2 separate regions of the Homo sapiens genome follow, and region 1 is linked to region 2. The links are contacts of gene promoters, found by promoter capture Hi-C in human tissues and cell types (Jung and others, 2019). All regions are on one chromosome and are shown on one strand. The core of a region is centred on a gene start or on the middle of the fragment in contact, and the rest is flanking DNA. Distances in the headings are between cores, read along the strand shown. Region 1 overlaps ATF2 (activating transcription factor 2). Region 2 holds the start of CHRNA1 (cholinergic receptor nicotinic alpha 1 subunit).

The links. The method cuts DNA at HindIII sites, captures the fragments that hold promoters and counts their contacts. A contact is called where the count stands out against the background at its distance.
Region 1: a fragment that was not itself captured here is called in contact with the fragment with the promoter of CHRNA1 in region 2 in 1 of the 25 tissues and cell types used here (pancreas).

The regions. Positions count from the first base shown.
Region 1 is chr2:175,157,177-175,160,383 of GRCh38, forward strand. The region is part of intron 1 of ATF2 (activating transcription factor 2); the gene reads right to left. Among named protein-coding and RNA genes, the nearest start is that of MIR933, 8.9 kb to the right of the region's middle. The HindIII fragment of the contact is 7,995 bases long and covers 1-3,207 here.
Region 2 is chr2:174,762,804-174,766,064 of GRCh38, forward strand. CHRNA1 (cholinergic receptor nicotinic alpha 1 subunit) reads right to left here and starts at 1,669. Exons shown (of 9, transcript NM_000079.4): 1 at 1,549-1,669. The coding sequence starts at 1,591. RefSeq lists an enhancer at 1,670-2,169. The HindIII fragment of the contact is 8,948 bases long and covers 1-3,261 here.

The DNA of each region.
Region 1 (3,207 bases), core at 171-2,670, 390 kb after region 2:
TTCTCATTATTTTGTCTCCTCACAGTATTAACTCTGAAATCCACTTTGTGCAGGATCTGCCATTACTAGGATGTCAGAAAAACAATAAGGCTGGATCTGTAAGAGGCAAGTTATTTCCAAACAGCAGTAATAGGACCTTGGCCCCCATCCCCACTTCATGTATCTATGCAGTCTATCTACACAGCCACGCAGGGTGAGAGCTCACAATGACCAATCAGGAGTCTTGAGATCCCCTCTCGATTGGGCAAGAAGCAAACGTCTGGGAGGAACATTGGAAACTGAGGCCATCTCTACAGGAACCCAAGTGGCCATGCTGTGGTGTGGTCAGGCCAGCGACTCTTACCAATTAAACAGCCAATATGTTCACCACTAAGTAGATCCTATTGATTGGTTGATGATTGCTGCTGATGTGGCCCCTTTCCCACAAACATAAAAAAATAAAGGGAAGATCTGGGGCCAACACTGAAGGGGGAGGGGCACGCTAGCACAATGACACTAGACACGACTTTATTCCCTTTCAAACATCTGTTATCATGGGCTGGGCACAGTGGCTCATGCCTGTAATCCCAGCACTTTGGGAGGCCAAGGTGGGTGGATCACGAGATCAGGAGTTTAAGACCAGCCTGGCCAAGATGGTGAAACCCTTTCTCTACTAAAAATACAAAAATTAGCTGAGCGTAGTGGCAGGTGCCTGTAATCCCAGCTACTCAGAAGGCTAACGCAGAGAACTGCTTGAACCCGGGAGGCAGAGGTTGCAGTGAGCCGAGATCGCGCTACTGCACTCCAGGCTGGGTGACAGAGTGAGACTCTGTCTCAAAAAAAAAAAAACACCAATATCTGTCATCATGTAGGCACAGCCAAGGTGAACTGAAGCAGGATACGAACACTCAGTACATTCATGACTATCTTCATACATTCCTGAAATGATCCTAGAGATCACCTTGGGAATAGCAAAGTGGTCATAATAACAAACCTAAATCAAGGAGTTTGAAAACCTGCAGCCACGACCTAGTAGGACTTCACTTGCCTCTCAAGACTAAAGTATTTTGAATTCAGGATTTTTTTTTTTTTTTTTTTTGAGACAGGGTCTTGCTCTGTAAGTACAGTGGCCCAACCATGGCTCACTGCAACCTGGATCTCCTGGGCTCAAGTGATCCTCCCACCTCAACCTCCTCAGTAGGCGGAACCACAGGTACACATGCCACCACACCCAGCTAAATTTTTTTTGGAGTGACCGGTCTCACGATGTTGCCCAGGCTGGTCTTGAATTCCTTGAGCTCAAACTCTTATTTTAAATTATCCAGGGATAATTTTAAAATGGATAACTTAAAATGGATATTTTAAATGGATAATTTAAAATAAGAGTGCCTTAAAGCTTCCTGATCCTACGGCAAGAAGCAAACGTCTGGGGGGAACACTGGAAACTGAGGTCATCTCTACAGGAACCCAAGTGGATATTTTAAATGGATAATTTAAAATAAGAGTGACTTAAAGCCTCCATTAATCAAGGCAATGATCCTCCTGTATTAGCCTCCCAAAGTGCTGGGATTGTAGGTGTGAGCCACTGCCCCTGGCCAGGAAAATTTTAAATTGTATGATTACACTATGATCCTCTACAGTAAAAAAAAAAATACATTTCAGGGCTATCAAAATATATAAAAGTAACATATGTAAAATACACAGAATAGTGCATGACACTAAAATAGTATTTATTAAGTTCATAAATTTTACTGCATTTTACTTTGACTTTAAATGTACATTTTTCTAATGCCTAATAAATACCTAATCTTACTATCTTCTTTATTTTTAAGGCCAGAAACTGAACTACATACTCAGTTTGACTTTTAGATAAGAGTTTTGGCCAGGCATGATAGCTCAACCCTGTAATCCCAGCACTTTGGGAGGCCAAGGTAGGCAGACTGCTTGAGGTCAGGAGTTCAAGACCAGCCTGGTCATCATGGAGAAACCCCGTCTCTACTAAAAATACAAAAAAATCAGCGGGGCGTGGTGGCGGAGACTATAGTTCCAGCTGCTCAAAAGGCTGAGGCATGAGAACTGCTTGAGCCTGGGAGGTGGAGGGTTCAGTGAGCTGAGAACCTACCACTGTACTCCAGCCTGCGCGACAGAGCAAGACTCCGTCTCAAAAAAAAAAAAAAGTTTTATATTAATCTTTAACCCATGATTCTGATGCTATCTGTAAGTTTATTTGATATATAATGTTTAGTTCATCAATTTAGGTAACTCAAATTCATCAGCTGAGAGAAAAATATTAAGCCCAATGTTAACAAGGAAAGCAGCAGTATTTTTTCCCCCACTCACAGCAGACATGAGAGAGGTCCTTCACACAATTCCCAAGAGTATACTAAAATTTTGATGAAATTTCTCAAAGTTGATGGTACACGTAAAAAGTATCACAAACTTCTCCAGACTGTATTATGAGTATGTGAAGAGTGAAATCAGTTCAATATCTCAAAAATATTCAATTAAAATATCAGTAGTCCAATTTTTAAATTAAATATTTTTTAAGTGAGTCTTGATTATTCCTAGGCAATGTAAAGAAAGCAAGTAGTTTTATAGTTTAAAATTATAATAGAATAACAAATACATAAATACAAAAAATTTACAGAGTAATAATTATGAATATAAACAACAGTAGCACAAGTTGTGCTAATAACATCACCTTAGATTTGGTAACAGAATTATGTGGTCTAAGGTCCATAGCATTATTTTTGCCCAAGGTAGGTGATAAAATACCTTTCATTGCTTTTTTTCTCCTGAGAAACTTATTTTTTGTAAAAGCAAAAAGAAAATAGAAATAGAAATTCAGTTCTCCAAGAATTACAGTAATTCATAGTCATCACCATTATGAAAAATACATCAATAAAAATTTCTCATTATGAAGAGGGCACAAATAAAATACACTACCGGCTTGGTGTGGTGGCTCACGCCTGTAACCCCAGCGCTTTGTGAAGCTGAGATGGGAGGATTACTTGAGGCCAAGAATTCAAGACCAACCTGGGTAACATAGTGAGACTCCATCTCTACAAAAAATTAAAAAATTAGCTGGGTATAGTAGCACATGCCTGTAGTCCCAGCTACTCGGGAGGCTGAGGTGGGAGGATTGCTGAAGCCCAGGTGTTTGAGGCAGCAGTGAACTACGACTGCACCACCACACTCCAGCCTGGGTGATAGAGACCCTGTCTCTAA
Region 2 (3,261 bases), core at 419-2,918:
ACAGTTTCAAAGTGTTCCTTTTGTACCACACTGGTTCCATTTGTATTTGTATGTAGGAAATAGCTCCCTGGGCTGGGCAAAAGAAATTTTGAACTGTTACTAGTCCCATGGATCATTATTATCTTAACCTGATTCTGTATCTCTTGCTACCTTTGGCTAGTTCAGGCTGTGTTTTCTGACTGTGCATGTAATAAACCAAGTCTCCAACTGACCACATTCCAAAATGTATAAATTAAGTGACCTTGGGCAGGTCAGCTTTAGTTTCCTTGTAATAAAAAATTGAGGATGTTGGACTGCCTGATCTAGCTCTAAATTTCTATAAAACACCCATGGAAATCAATGCCAGCAAACTCGAGATTTGACCTAAATACATATCACATACTTCTTTAATAGCTAATCATGCATTTTTGGTTAGCAATAACCAAAATCCTAAGAGATCTCTTAAGGATGTTTACATTAAAGCATATCATTTAAGAATTTTCCTGTGACTGTGGTTTTGCGTGCACGCATGTGTGTGCACGCGCGCGCACACACACACACACACACACACACACATCAGGCCAGCTTTGGCTGGACAGAGTCCAAATCCCACATGATATAATTTATCTGAGTTTAGGCTCTTTCACTCAACTCTGATATTGAAAAAAATTAATAATAAAGCTTTTTGCCTCTTGACCAGAAGGCCTGTGTTTTTCAGAGCAATATTGGAAATGAAAAATCACAGGATGTCAGCCACCTTGTTTCTCAGTTGGGATGATATCACCAGTAAACTTTTATGTGAAGCAATCAGCAAACATCTCCTGTTTCCCTCTAGCGGAAGTCTGGGATTCAGGATGGTGTTTCAGCTGCTGTGTTAGGACACATTCCAGAGTAGAATGCAGGTCAAATGCTGTGCAAGGTTTTATAGTTTCAATTCAAACCCAAACCTATATATAGTAACATCTTAAAAAAAAAAAGTAGGTAGGAATGTATTCATATGGAATTTTTTTTAACTTCAGAAATTTTGAAAAAATTAAAAAATATTTGTCTCTGTGGAGAGAGTTTAGTTATGATTATTAACTGGTTTCTATCTCCAGCACATGTAGCTGTCAATCAGTCCTCTTTATTATTAGAATTCTCCTGGAGCAGTAAAGGGACTTGTTAACTCCATTGTATGTGATTATAAGGCACTGTTCTAAGTATCCATAGTTGTTTAAATATGAACCCCCGGACACTACCATGATCCACAAGTGGTCCAGGTCCTACAAATGGTGCCGAGTGTTCAGAGGGATGAGTCGGCTGCCAGGCATGATGGAGGGAGAGACATGCGTGTCTATCTTGAAGTCTTTGACCAGGCAGTTTCTATTTTAATTAGATAAGGCAAACTAAAAATCTTTATCCAAAAACTCAATCAAGCTAACATCAGGAAGAAACTGACAGAGCAGCCCCTGGTTGGGGAGGCTCTGCCATTCTGTGGTCTCATCAAAGAAGCAAGACTTTGATTTGGGGGCCTCCAGCACTTTAGCCTCAAAGGAGAGCCCTCTCCCCACCCCTGACCCCAGCACTTACCTGAGCAAAGGCTAAAGAGCAGGAGGAGAGGCCAGGGCTCCATGGGCTACCGGAGCTTGTGTGGACCAGGGCAGAGTGGTGGCCTGTGCTTCTCACTGGCACTCTGGCTGGGTGCTTGTCTGCTGGAGGGTTTGGAAAGCGAGTCGGCTCACTAGAGCTATTGTTTTACACCACCTGTTTGTGGGAGCGACAGCTGGGCTGCCCTCAGCCCTGGAGCCCAGGGAGTTACTGGGACTGTACACCATTACAGATATGCCTCACTTTACACAATTGCTTACCCTTGACAAGCTGAGTATGAACTGCATTATATTTTAAATGCACCAGTAGTCAGATCTTAATGAAAAAAAAATGTATAGGAAGGAAGGAATTATTTTAAATGGTGAGCAAACTGCCTCTCTTTTGTGTAAACCAGAACCTCATCTCTGTGGGTTGACTTGATTAGGGTCATTTGGTCTGAGTAGATAGTCAGCTGTTTGTCCTAAACCACAAAAATCCACATTCTGCAAACATGGCTTCAGTTTCATTTCCTCTGCTTCAGTGTTAGGCTGAGGGTGCCGGGGGCTTTTCTGACTGCCTGGATTTCAGAAAAGTGTAGCTGGTGTTGAGTCTGCTGCTGGGAAGCCCCCACGTTGATTGGGTTTGGTTTTTAACAAAGACAGCTTCTTCCATAAAACTGGCTTTACTGGCCCCCAGAGTGGCTGTTCCAACCCCTGCCTCTGTATCAGGCAATACCTATCCCACACGAACCATTAGCTGGAGCAAATTGCCCACGTCCTATGCACTGTGATTCAAGCGAAGAGTAATTATTGGGAAAAAGTGTCCCACCGCATCAGCAGTCGTTCCGGGTTCCTGCCTCCTTCCATCCGTCCCTCTGCCTACTCTCACTCAGGGAAGCAAAGAGCAGAGTGGTTCAGCTTTTCAATTATCTTGCTTGAAAAACATCCTAAAAACCAGCAGTTAGTAATTTCTCAGTCTGAGAAGTATTGTTACCCTAGCTGTGCTTCTTTGCAGGGTGTGAGGTGAGTTCCCAGAAGGAGACAGTTACTTAAAGGTACCCTGCCTGTTCCTTCCAGGCCTCCTTCCCACATGGAACTAGGTGAGAAAGGTCCTCTCACCTCAAGCCCACAACAACATCCTGACAGATCCTCTCATTCCAGTGGATCCAAACAAATCATTAGAGAAGGGGCTTGGAGGGTAGAGGAGAGAGCTGCAAGCTCATACTATTTATATTTTTTGTTTAAACTGTGGGAGATCAGTTAACTGTTTGCTAAAAAAAAATTTGGTTCTCTCCCTTCCATGGAATAGCCCCGTGGCAGAAATACAACCCCCACCCTCTGACCAGCCCCTTCCATCTAAATGGAGCCATGGGACTGACCTCTGGCCAGTGGCATGAGTGGAAAAATGTTCTCAGACTCACAAACCTACCAGAGCTCAGCCCCGCCCTTCTAGTCTTCTGACCGGCTAGAATGGACATGGTCCCAAAGTTAACCTTAGAAACCATGTTCTGAAGGTGGTGTTGCTTTTGACATTCTGAATCCTTGAATGACTGCATGGAGGGGGACCCCCTATCCACCTGCTCACCACCCAGCACTATTTCAATGAAAACAAAACATGCATCGTGCTGAGCCATCAAAATCCTTGGGTTTATTTGTACAGCAGCTAGTGTTCCGTAATTAATAAAATATGTAATCCTTTGCACTAGTATCCTGAGGT